Linked DNA regions of Homo sapiens: region 1 is linked to region 2. The links are contacts of gene promoters, found by promoter capture Hi-C in human tissues and cell types (Jung and others, 2019). All regions are on one chromosome and are shown on one strand. Each heading gives the region's core, a stretch centred on a gene start or on the middle of the fragment in contact. The rest is flanking DNA. Distances are from core to core; before and after follow the strand shown. Region 1 overlaps DGKG (diacylglycerol kinase gamma). Region 2 holds the start of CRYGS (crystallin gamma S).

Region 1 (7,086 bases), core at 3,177-5,676, 320 kb after region 2:
AAGCAATCCAGTATTAACAGATCTGATTTCTCAAGAGAAGCTGGGCTTCAGGTGTGTATGTAAAATTTTCCAATTTTAAACACCACCATGCAAGCCAAATAAACACATTGCCAGGCCCCATAAGAGCCTTGGCCCTCCAACTTGTCACGTTGATGTCCAGGAAATATAACCTTAGGGTTGTGATGGGGGCCAATTATTTATTTTTCTTGCTTGACCTTGGTCACAAATTATTGGTGCTATAAATGTGAACTGATCTCCTGCCAAAGGAGAGAATGAATGGGCTTGAGGAGAATTTTAAAGCATTGACAAAGGGTTCCTAGATGTCATTAAAAAAAATGATTCAGGGCCAGGCGCAATGGCTCATGCCTGTAATCCCTACACTTTGCGAAGCTGAGAGGGGAGAATTGTTTCAGCCCAGGATTTTGGAGCTACAGGGAACTATTAATATAATCGTACCACTTGCACTCCAGCCTGGGCAATGGAGTGAGACCCTGTCTCAAAAAAAATAAGTAAATAAAATACATTAAAAAAAAAAAGAAAGAAATGATTCAGAAAGAAAAGGGACTCAGGGGGACAAAGAGAACATAAAGAGAAGTCACTCTGATTAATAAATAGATATGGAAATAAAGAGGAAATTCCCAATTCCTGTTTGGAGAAAAAATTAAAAGTATAGTCTCTGCACAAGGAGAATAAATTTGGACCTTCTGGAGAAGGGAGACACAGCAGCTAACAGACTTACCATGAGGTTCAACTCCTCATGAGCCTGCAGAGGTAGCTACCCAGATTGTCTTCTTCCAGCATGTATTAAAGTATGTAGCATTGGTTAAAATGCCTTCCACAGGATGTTAAAAAGAAATTCACAAGAAGATTGGGGGGCGGGGGGGTGTCAATCATTGAATACACTTGGAAAATTGAGTCAAACATAATTCTTTTCTGTTTGATATTGTAGAGCTTTTAATGTAGATTCTAACCTGCTGAGATCATGCAAAAGCAAGAGAAAGTATTTCATTCCCAAATTTACCTGACCACAGAATCCCCTTACCCCAGAGCCTCTTGAGACCAATATTTTACCGAATTCATTGGTGAAAGCCCCTGCATTCGAGTGCACATACTCATATAACTTACAGACTCTTTCTCCTGTCTGCCTGCGGGCATGGTGGCAAATGACACATTTGGAGGAATCCTGGTTAGTATCTCTAGTGACCTTTGATGTCTTGGGTAGCAAGCTAAGGGACATGGGCAAAGGCAATGCTTTAGTCTCTTCCTCAGCCGTGAGTCATAATTTTAGAAGAAACAGGCACATATGGGGAACACAGAGCTGCTCTGTAGCTGATCTGAGAACGACTGTTCTTCTGGACCATGGATTTTGATGCTGGAATAAGAGGACCCTGGCAAGGAATTGGGAGCTTATCACATAAACCAAGCGGAATATTTTTGGCCAGATACTTGAGGACCAAACAGAAGAGCTTTAAAATGAGATTTAAGTAGGATAAAGTAGAGTGTTCAAATTAAACTCTAAAATCACAGCCCACAGAAGGGCAGCAGGTGCAAGCTACAAATAAGAGGCGTGGCTAAGGTGGTGCCAAGCAGCTCTCCCAAGGAACTGGCTGGGAGGACCACTGGGGCCACACCTACAGCTGGGACAAGTTTGCCAACCACACAGTGAGAGGGGCAAACTGAATGATTCGTATTCCTTAGGGGAGAGGAGCACGACCTTAGAGATTGCAGTCAGAGACATGGTGGGGCAGGACACACAGCTGCACCACCAGGCCAGGTGAGGATGACAAGTTCACATAAATTGCAGTCTCTGAAATGGGTGGCAGGGATGTATACACAAGAATAAGAAGTCACAAACGTCAGAGTGGAAGCAAAGTAGAGAGCATATGGATGAGATTTTCAAAAGGATGAAATAGAAAGGATTTTGCTGGCAGGGTCTACCGCAGTCTTCTCAGGCAGAGCGAGGCTCTGGCTCATGCTTTCCTATTTAAGATTTTTTAAACTGGCACAGGAAGAAGATGGAATAGGGAAGAGAAGGGGGGTATTTATCCAGGCATCTGCCCTATCGAGTGCATTTTTGACTTGCCTTGCTAACAATTTCATGATGGGAAAGGTAAGGGAAACAAGGAGGGAGCGACTTACCGTGGACTTAATTCTAGACAAGATGCCTCTAACCAGCCGATGGTGGGGAAGGCACAGGAAACATAGGCAGAAATAACCAGACCATCCTAGAGTTTTAGGATTGCAAAAGGAAGACACAGGATGCATACTTCAGTGTGTGCTCTCTGCTACCCTTTCCACTTCTGCTGCTTCTCACTCTCCCTCTGGCGTCTCCATTCCCCTCCTAAGTAGAACTCCAGCCCAGACTTCAGGGTCACCGCCGGGGATGTAGGGTAGAGGAGTCTCCAGGTTTCTTTCCCAGGAAGTTGAGGAAAGCAAAGATCCCCAATCCCAATTCAGCGGAAAAGATGTGCTCCCTGTACTTTAAGTTGGAACTCAGAATCATGAGGCCACGAAGCCAGTTTTATATACAACAATGGAGTTCTACTGTGCCTTTATTGGAGTGTATATCATGAGACATATATATATATATATATATATAGTATACATACACGTGTGTGTATTCTTTTGTTTGTTTGTTTGTTTGTTTTCCTGAGACAGAGTCTCACTCTGTCGCCCAGGCTGGAGTGCAGTGGCCACCTCTGCCTCCCAGGTTCAAGCAATTCTCCTGCCTCAGCCTCCCAAGCAGCTCAGAATACATGCACCCGCCACCACGCCTGGCTAATTTTTGTATTTTTAGTAGAGATGGGGTGTCACCGTATTGGCCAGGCTGGTCTTGAACTCCCAGACCTCATGATCCGCCCGCCTCAGCCTCCCAAATTGCTGGGTTTACAGGCGTGACCCACTGCGCCTGGCCTAATTTTTGTATTTTTAGTAGAGACAGGGTGTCACCATGTTGGCCAGGCTGGTCTCAAACTCCTGACCTCAAGTGATCCGCCCGCCTCAGTCTCCCAAAGTGCTGGGATTACAGGCGTGAGCCACCGCACCCGACCATGTGTGTGTATTCTTAATTAATATTGCCAGCAACCCCTGCAAGGTAGGTCATATTGTGTCAATTCAAAAATAGAGAAACTAAGAGACAGACTAAATGATTTGCCCAAGGTCACATGGCAGGTAAGTGACTGAACTGTGGCTTGAACCCAGGCCTTTCTGCCTTCCCACCAGAACTCCTTCAGCTCCAGTAAGCTCTCTCTAAAACGAGACATTGTAGTTTGGGTACCTAATGGGTTAATTGGCTCTTGTGGGTTAGCCTGGGAACCCAACCTCAACATCACATTGTTTCTATGGGGAAATGTGCTCAGAGTGACAAACAACTGGCTTAACCAAGGAACTTTTGTAACCCGACCTATCATAAAGCAGGCACTGCCTCGTGTTCAGAAAGACTGGCTGGGGAGCGAGAGGGGAGAACAGGATCAGCCAGCCTGCATCCCCTCAGACTCTGTGATCCCGTTCCAGTCTAGCTGTAGGTTTGCCAAGGAACAACCATCTCACACGTCTACAAATAGCCACCATAGTACCTACCGCAGGGGGTAGACGTGAGGATCAAAAGAGCGCGACCCTTGGGTGCATAAAGCAGCCAGTGCAGGTCAGACCCACGGTCAACATTTATGAAGTGGGAAGTGAGATTCCTCTCAACAGCTGGGGGCCGGCAGAGCTCAGCTGGCTCCCTCAGGACCCACCCGGCGGTCACGGTAGTGTGAGGGTGTGGACCTGCTTCCAGGGTTTGCCTCTGCTCCTCCAGACAGTTCCACCTTTTAGTCTTGGTTGATCAGGACCCAGGAAGTCACCTTCCACAGCGAGAGGCTCAGCTCCAGCAGGACAGCCACCTTCTCTAAGCCTTCAAGGCTCAGTTTCTAACACGAGGCCTCACCCACCTGTATCTTCACTGTCCCCACCGCCTTCAGATACCAGTTCCCAGGGCTGATGGATGTGTAAATGCTGGAAAGCACAGCTAAGGAATCACTACAGAACCTCAGGAGTGAGCATTCCTGTCCGCCTTTTCCCCGTCCCTCCAGGCAGGGATTTCTTTTTGTCCCAGTATTTGACTTTGCTCTCCGTTAACTGCCAAGAGCAAGCTTATTCCATGCCCTCCACCCTCCGCCAAATCAGCCTGAAGGGGATTTTCTTTCCACGAATAACTCTTCAAAGGGAGAAAGGATTGCTAAGAAGCAGCCAAACTGTGAGGGTTTTTTCTTTCTTTCTTTTTTCTTTTTGGATGAGGGAAAGGAGCTATTTTCTCTTGGCAAGGACAGATACTAACTGGAAAAACACCCTGGAGACCCAGGCCATCAGGAAAGGAAAACCCTGACAACATGGTCCTGGCCTTGCCTGCCCCTCAGCATTCTCCCCTGAGGGCCACCCCCAAAGTGGTGCCTTTCACAGCACAGTGGCCATTCTCCAGTCAGGCTGCTGGGCCTTTGGAGAGACTCTCTGGCCTCAGAGGGGCAGTGTCTGCGAGCACATTTGGTAACAGTGGATCATGAGTCTCAGGGAAGCCTTCTTGTTGCGGCCTGTGTGTGTGCCCGCACGTGCACACGTGTGTCCTTGTGTGCTGCACTGGGAAAGGATCCGATTTCAGACTTTGGCAATCTTCGTGCTTGGAGTCCTGCCCTTAGGAGGAGATACTGTCAGGTGCCAGACAGAATTCGGAGATCCTATCAATGGAGAATGTGTCCTTGGTCCGCAGAAACACACTGTCTTATATGGAAGAGAAGGGTCACTGTTCAGAGGCAGTAGATTCTTAGGGGCCCAGAATTACCCTTGAAGGGGTACAGAGGCTGCTCTAAATATGAGGCTTATGGGTTTGGCCCTTTGTTACTCTGGGACAAGAGTGGAGACTGGAGACCAATGGGGAGGCCCAGATCATGGACTCTGCTAAAGAGTGTCAGGGTCCCAGCCAACCTCAAGCTGGGATCCTACAGCCATACCGGTGGCGCATGTGGTAGATGTGAGTAAACCCAGCTCACAGGCATGAATGAGAATGACTCACAGCTTTGCAGTCACTAGCTCTGGTGACTTCGGTTGACTTTTCCATTTCTCTCAGGTGCCTCTGGGGCATAGCAACAGGAGCCAGGGAGAGTAAACCAGTAAGGAGTATGGGCTGGAAGACGGGGTTTGTATTCCAGCTCCATACCTCCCAGCTGCATCACCAAGAACTGATCTCGGTTTCCTAAGCTGTACCGTGAGAAGGCTGCCATGGCTTAGAAGAGAACCACCATGGAGCCCTGGTATAGAGTAGTAATTTTACATGTACCCTTTTACTATGGAATAGTGCACTATTTTTATTCATTCTCCCACTGCCTCCCACCATGGGTGCCATATTGAGTAAGACTTTTTTCAGCCATAAAGCTCTTCTAAGTAATCATTTGTTTCCCCATTTTGATTATTCAGGATTCAATTGCCATTCAATCCGTGTCTCTGGTTACCAAGCAGTAACTGATATAACTGATTTAATTCCATTGCACATCAAAAAAATTATAGTTTAACCCACTAGTTAGCCTATGCTGTCTTTATTATGATTAAATGCACAAATACTATTTTACATTAAGACATATTGACAGCAGCTCCTGGACTCCATTTACACTTTGGAAGAACTCTTTGGAACCTGTGATCCCCTGGCTATAATAAGTCCCTGAACCCTGAAGACCTCTTAGTTGCAAACAGTATGTCATCTGTGATTTTACAGTTAATTTCTCACACATGGAAATGACTCAAGAAGTGTCTTCAGAGGTTATTAAGAGGATTCCATAGTTATACAATAAAATACATCCTACTCAAGTTTCTCCCTCCTTCCTCAGCCTTTTTTTTTCTGAGCCCCTTCTTGAGATCTCCCCTTTCCTGTTCTCCATCTTTCTGCCCACTCTTCCTGGTCTCTGGCCTCCAGTCTTCCCATCATTCACCACCCTAGATTTTTCTGAGTGCCATGAACACCAGTCTTGTCCCAAGTATGGAAACAAGCCAGGGAATACCTCGCGCCTTGAAGCTGAAACACATCGAGCCAACACAAATCTGTTGGCAGGAACAGCAGGCACAAGAGTCACATTCAGAGTACAAAAACAGCTATTTATAAAGCCTCCTTCCTGATTTTTGGGTGTTCACTTTCCCTTGAACCAAAGGGGCCACTGCCCCCTCTTGGAAAAGATGATTCCATGCACAGCTCGGTGCCTGAGGATCACTGCGTGCCTGTTCTGATGAGCAGTGAGAGCTGGGGACAGCATGCAGCGTGGATTAGATGTGGTGACACACTCTCTGATGGGCCAAGGCAGCTGGGTGTGCGGGTGACACAGATGGCCTCTGCAGCACCTGTGAGGTAACAGTCAGGGGCCCCTTATAGGACTTGACATCCTGGCCTCAGAGCAGACCCCACCTGCCTTTGCTTTTCTTTTTTTTTTTTTTTTTTTTAACTCTTGATGTAAACTTCGGTTAACATAATCACTAAGCTTCCAAAGGTATTTGAGATTCAAGTAATGTAAAATGTTAACAGGTAAAGTACTGTCAATATTATTACTAATATTTATCAATTATAATTCAACTCTTGTTGCATTTGGCCGTTCTGCATTTCTGTTATACCTGATTTGCTAAATTATTATTTACCTTAGTAATCCAATGCTAGTCTATTATCTTCAGTAGTGGTAGCAATAACACCGCTAATAACCCAGCAAATCCCAAATGGGATTGAGATCATTTGTTTTATATTTTAATTGAGATGAACCTGATGAAAATTTATAATTCATATACAGAAATGTCCTGTTGGCTAGCTACAGTTTTCCCAAATGTGTAGTTTTTTGGCTTAGGTTCTTAAAAACTTGAATTAGTTGCCAATTCCAATAATCAGGAGATTTTACATGAAAATATATTTCTGGATTCTCTTTCAAAAATGTCAGTTCTGACAATACTTGGGCCCACACTCCTACACAGCAGCAGTTGTAGAACACGTGAGTCCTCCCATCCTGTTCTGAATTGTGTCATCTCAAGTTGTCTGGGGAGCTTGGAGAAACCTTGGAAAGCAGTTGGTCCGAGTCTTTCATT
Region 2 (6,177 bases), core at 1,001-3,500:
TCTCGATTTCCTGACCTCGTGATCCGCCCATCTCGGCCTCCCAAAGTGCTGGGATTACAGGCGTGAGCCACCGTGCCCAGCCTTCTGTTCTATTTAAGAACTTTGATTTCCATTCCATTTTCATTTATTACTGTTTAGGCCGAATTTTCGCTAAACTTCTGACTTTCATATAAACATATTGCTTATAGAACATCAGAAGACTCGTCTTTGTGATGCCCAAATGAAAAAGTTGGTGAAGGTAGTACCATTGTATGTATGTTAATATTAAAGCAACTGAGTGTAGATTTGCAACTATAGTGTGTATCTTCATTTGTGTGATGAAAGAGTTTTATTCTTTCTAGAGTTAAATAAGAGTTTTATAGTTCTTTGTAACTATTTAAAAGGAAATTGCTACTCCTTTTAAAAAATAATTGGAAAGGAAGTATGATTTGTTGGTATATAGACATAGAAATAGTTTTATACTATATTTTAGTCCTTAAAGTATGGAACTTAATGAAATTGTTTAAAAAAATCTTTATTTTTCACTTCCTGCTTCAAATTTTCAATAAACAAACTCTAAAGAATAATTTCCTTTTTTTGTAAAAGATAAATCTTTAGTTTTAATTTTAGAAAAGGTTTCCAGTGTCATTTCTCAAAATAACTAGTAAAGTTTACATTTACTTGGGAAAACCTTCTTTCAGATAAATGAGTGAAATTACCAAATTACCAAATGAGTGAAATGAATCAGATTGCTGATAAACATTGGTTCATATGCTCTCTGGCCATTTAATTAGTATTTCTATCAAAAAACTCTTTTGTATTTCTAAAGTAAAAATTAACCCTCAGAATGTTTAATTCTAATTGAAGTTTACATGGTTTTTATTTTAAGATGAAATTCAAGGAGCAGACCATTACCAAATAAACACTGGAGTAATAGAAATATATTTTAGATATTGCTATTTGTTAATGAAATAAATGGTACTCAGATACTTTTTTTAAAGTTTTAAAGTTTTATAAAATTTTATAAAATTCAGAAAACCAAGCATATAGCTTAATATTTTCTCAATAATCTTTATATTAAGGCACATTTGCCATTTTCTGAATTGACCATAATACATCCCATTTATTAAAATATTTGTTAGTTTTGTTAACAGAAAGATGAGGAAGTTTGACTTTTGAGAATATACTTGATTTTGAGAATATACTTGATCAGTTAAAGTTAAAAATGGAGAAAAGTTAATTTATTGGGTTTTTTTGTATTTACATAAGATGCAATCTCATTCCTAAAGTCAGAGGTGTATTAGGGCCAAAAAATGTTCTCCGATCATGTTCCAATGTTGTATTGTGGGCAAAGAAGACCACCTAGCCAGTAGCTTGTTGTGTTTAGTTAGCTAACCCTTGGCAAATTCAGGAGTCCCACAGTCACTTTTCTACATACGGTGGCACCCTTCTTATGGATTAGAGCTCTTTTTTTAAAAAAAATTGTGTTTTGAAAAAAATTAAATAATAGTTGCAAGAATAAGTCAGTGAACTTTAACATACCCTTTATCTAGATTCCATTCACCAGTTGTTAACATTTTGCTACATTCTCTTTACCACTCAACATGATAGTATTGTTTTATTTTTGCTCAACAATTTGAGAATAGGTTGCAGACATCTTGAACCTTTCTTCTAAATGGTAGCATACATGTCCTGGAAACAGACATACTCTTACCTAGTCATAGTACAATGATCAAATTCAAGAAGTTAAACTTTGGTACAATAGTATTATCTAATTTACAGTCCATATTAAAATGTTTTCTGATTGTCCCAGCAGTGTCTTTATAGTGACTTTTTTCCCCAAACACAAGATCATGCATTGCATTTAGTTGTCATGTAAGTTTTGTTGCGTTTAGAACATGTCACTTCTGTCCAGAAATAGAGGTAGTCTTCTGACTCTTACCTCTCACAAGCTTTGTTGAAGAAAAAGGACATTAGGAATTTCAAAGAGGCTGCTTAAAAAAAAAAAGAGAGACTCTTTTGTTCTTAATTTTTACAACTTTGTCTGGGTTTTGGTTTCTTGACTCAGCAAAGTCTGTAATGCAGCCCTGCTTGGTAAGCATTAAAGGCGGTACTGAAGCTTTCCTTTATTTTATAATCCCAGTTGTTTTTTCTAGAAACCATCAATAGCGTCTAAATGACTGACTCAATTTTTGGATCCTATTCTCATGACTAAGCAAATGTTTGACTGAAACCAGCCCATATAAATGTCACTGTGCCTCTAACTCTCTGTAGCCATTCCTGAATTTCTTTCAGCACTGGGAAAACCAGTCTATGCACCAAAAATGTCTAAAACTGGAACCAAGGTAAGTAGTCATATTGATTTTTAGCCTACCCGCTTTTCACCTAATGATGCATTCAACACACAGAAAAGCTTTTGCTTCTTTGCCTAGAGGTGAGTATGATAGTGGTTAGAGAACTGGGATTGAGAGAGAAGATTAAGAAATGCTTATTATATTTTCCACCCTTAACAGAATTACCGAACACTTTATTAAGGGTTTATCTTTATGTATGGTGCTATGTTAAATACTATACAGGTAATTTATAAATATCATTATTATTTCTGCCTTCTAGCAACTAATATTCTATGCAACTGATATTCTCCATAGGAATAAGGCATGCTAATGGGGATTATATTGAGCAGAAAACTTTTAATAATCAATTAAAATTTTGTTTTCTGAAATTTAGCCTCAACCATTTGTGTTCTAAAAGGCCAAAGTGGATGGGCCAATCAGGTGAATAAAGTCCTACATCTCTCTTCCATTCAAGCAATTATTTTTACTCGTTCCTCAAATAAAGTGCTCCCTTACAGTCAGAAAATTGCCTCTAAAATATTTAACTCACAATTACTGGATTGGAAATTATTCTTTCAGGTAGGGCTTTGGGAATGAGGGAATATGCTTTCATTTTCTTTTTTGCGCTTCCACTGATGAGACAAAACTGCTGCCTGATTTTTACCCCCAGCTATTTGAAAATTTTCAAACCCATTGAATCCTCAAAGAATGGCAAAGAAATGTTGAATGAATATTTGTATATCTTTCACTTATATTCTCCAGTTGTTGACATTTTGCCATATTTGGTCTCTCCTATTTCCATCTCTCTTTATTAAACCATTTGAAAATTAGTAGCAGATTTTATTATACTTTTGCCTTAAGTATTTAGGCATGTATCTCCTAAAAACAAGGGCATTTCCCTGTATAAACACTGTATCACTAGCATGTCCCCAAGAGTTATCATAAATATAATAGCTAATATTGAGACCATATTCAAATCTCCCCTGATTGTCCCCAGAAAAGTGCTTCATGGTGGACTTTTCCCCTAATACAGGATCCAGTGAAAAACATGTATTGTAATTGGTTGTCATGTCTCTTTATTCTCTTTAGTTTTTTTTAGCCTCTCTAAAAATGTCCCTCTACCCTTTTTGTTGTTGTTCTTGAGACATTTTTCAAAGCCTAGGTTAGATGTCTTTTAGAAAGTCTTGCAATCTAGATTTGTCTAATTGTTTCCTCATGTTTAGATTCAGAATAAATATATTTGGCAAGAAAGCTACATAGGCAATGTTGTGTACTTCCTGTTGCATCAGGTCAGAAGGTACCTGTTAACTTGTTCTGTAATTTATTAGTGCTTGATTTTTTTTTCATTGGAAAATAGAACTAATAATCATGCTTGTCATTCAGGAGGTTTGGGGAGAAAAATTAGTGTCTTCAGTGCTCTGAGGTTCTTGAAAATATACCATGCAAATCCCACTAAAAAAGAATTTTTGGTCCTTAGAGGAGGGATATCCATGTATCTTGAGGTAAAGCTGTTCTACAACCATCTTAGATGAAAACATCTGCTTTTAAAGATTTGCAGAGTAGTAATAGTGTACTCTTTTTTATTTATAGATGAGTCGTTCATTTAGTTAAATAACTTTTGCTTGCTAGGGTAAAGGAGATAGTAAATTATTTCTTACTTTTTCTCATTGCTTCTTCCTTTCCCACTATCTTGATAGCAGTTTAATCAGAGGAGTTATGGGCTTGGCAAAAGGAATAGATTTTACTAAGTATGTTTTCATTACTTCTGGGATACTCAAGATATTTTTCTCTCTGCTGCATTGGATTAGTAGGCCATTTTTCCAAAAATAAACCTGATAATGATAGGAATTTTGTAATAATTTCTAGGAAAACTTTCTGCACATTTCTTTAGCCTTCTCTACAAAATATTTTGCCCAAAGGTCAAAACCTCTAGGCTGACAATAGCATGGATTTCATGGTTATTCTACAAAAAGAAATTGAGCACAGCTAGGTGCAACATTCTCTGGCTCTGAGATATAGAAGGTCTCCCACTGAAAGGAGAGCTTAGTCTTGGAGCTCAGTAATGATTCCATAGCAACAGGATGAGGGCTTTGTTTCAACTTTTGGATGGTTGGCTGGTCTCCTGGGAGGGTGGACATCAGGTGACCGTATCAGGCATCATGTATCTTTTTACTTAGCAGATATTGATAATTAGTCACGCAAATGTGCAGAAGGCAGTAAATGTGAGAAACTATGAAGTGAAATAGATGGTATTATTAACTTCATTTCCCATAGGATATCTTTTGCAAAGGCTCTTTTTAGTGACTTGTTTGGTCAAAAACCAAAGGCAAATAGAACATATGAATTAAGGAGTTTAGAATCTATCCATTCTTAGAGAAGTTATTTGACTTTCCTAAAGATCTCTCCACAGGTCATGAGGAAGAGCCCCTGAGGCTTAGGCCCAGCCTTGGTCATTGTCCAAGAGAGTAAGTGCTGCCATGTTAAACGAAGCTAACTGGGCAGGCAGAAAGACAGCAAAGGAAAATAAAGTGAACAATAGTTTACTCACCAGGAGTTTTGCACTGCAGCCCACCAGCTTGTCTGCAACTAACTTGTAACTAGGTAGTGACATTAGGCCAATCACTTAACTTCTTCATCTGTAAAAACTGTAGCAAAAGCTTATTGCTAATCATGAGTCAGCTATTCAACTAAGTACTTTATCAACATCCCCTTGGACCCTCAGAGCATACCGTCTGCAAGAGACACTATCATCCTGTTTTGCCAATGAAGAGCTGTAGAGAAAGGTTCATTGCCCTGTCCAAGGTCACGTAGCAAGAAAGCAGTAGTATTGAGACTTTTCTTTTTTTTCTTCATCCGTAAACTGAGGTACCATATATCTAAATCTGTACTGTGCTAAGATGGGAAGGGAACTGAAACACATAAAGAAATTTGGGCAGGGGATAAAGGAGAGGAAGTAGATGATTTAGGGGTGGGAAGGAAAAGGGACCCTTTTAGGGAACAGGAAAGAGAATAATTGAGATAAATGGGAAGGGAAGGGAAAGATTAAGGTGGAGGGAAACAATTATTAGTATATTAGTATCTAGATAGAAAGAACTACCCAGGATAGAGGAGAATGAGATTTTATAGCTTTTTATGAGTCATTCTTCGTTTCTTCCTCTCATTCCCTCCATCTAATTAGTCACCAAATCCTGAAGTTCTTTACTGTTTTCTCATCATCATTCACATTGGAGTTGCCTTTTGGTTGGCCCTCATCATCTCTCACCTGGCCCACAGCAGCCATCCGTTTCTAGGCACACACTACTAAGTCCAACTCACTCATAATCACCAAAGGGATTCCAGCATGATTCTGGTGTCATTTTTCTGGCTTTATTTTCTAGTACTTCACCACATATTCAATATGTACTGGACTTAATGAACTACTTATTGTCCCTATAATGGGCCATGTTCTTTCACTTTATTCTTTTAAACATGTTTGTTCCTTTTCATTTGCCTCTGGAAAACACCTACTTATCCTTCAATGCTCAGCTCAAAGATCCTCTCAAGACAGTATCCGGCTCTGCTCCTTTCATCTGAAATGACTCACATAGTTTTCGCCCGTGAAATCCATAAAGTAAATCAGCCACAAGGTGGCGGCATAATGCCAGGTAATTAACGGTTCGAAGCATGACACCTGTGGTTTCAGTTTATAACCTAGCATTGATCTGAAATTCCATCTTAAAAAAAAAAAAGATGAAAAGATTGTGGAATTATTGAATAACAAGGGACAAGCTCTGTAGCTCATTTGTAGTTTTCATCGTGGTTTTCAGGAACTGCTTGGTGAATCCTTGGGAGTTCCTAGGAACTCTGTCTCCTGTTTCAGCCAGAA

The links. The method cuts DNA at HindIII sites, captures the fragments that hold promoters and counts their contacts. A contact is called where the count stands out against the background at its distance.
Region 1: a fragment that was not itself captured here is called in contact with the fragment with the promoter of CRYGS in region 2 in 1 of the 25 tissues and cell types used here (aorta).

What each region holds. Positions count from the first base shown.
Region 1 is chr3:186,218,525-186,225,610 of GRCh38, reverse strand. All of the region lies in intron 20 of DGKG (diacylglycerol kinase gamma), which reads left to right. Among named protein-coding and RNA genes, the nearest start is that of ETV5, 110 kb to the right of the region's middle. RefSeq lists enhancers at 3,212-4,125, 4,884-4,953. The HindIII fragment of the contact is 6,739 bases long and covers 1,057-7,086 here.
Region 2 is chr3:186,540,453-186,546,629 of GRCh38, reverse strand. CRYGS (crystallin gamma S) reads left to right here and starts at 2,250. Exons shown (of 3, transcript NM_017541.4): 1 at 2,250-2,324. The coding sequence starts at 2,304. TBCCD1 (TBCC domain containing 1) reads left to right here. Exons shown (of 8, transcript NM_018138.5): 8 at 1-563. The HindIII fragment of the contact is 9,271 bases long and covers 1-3,681 here.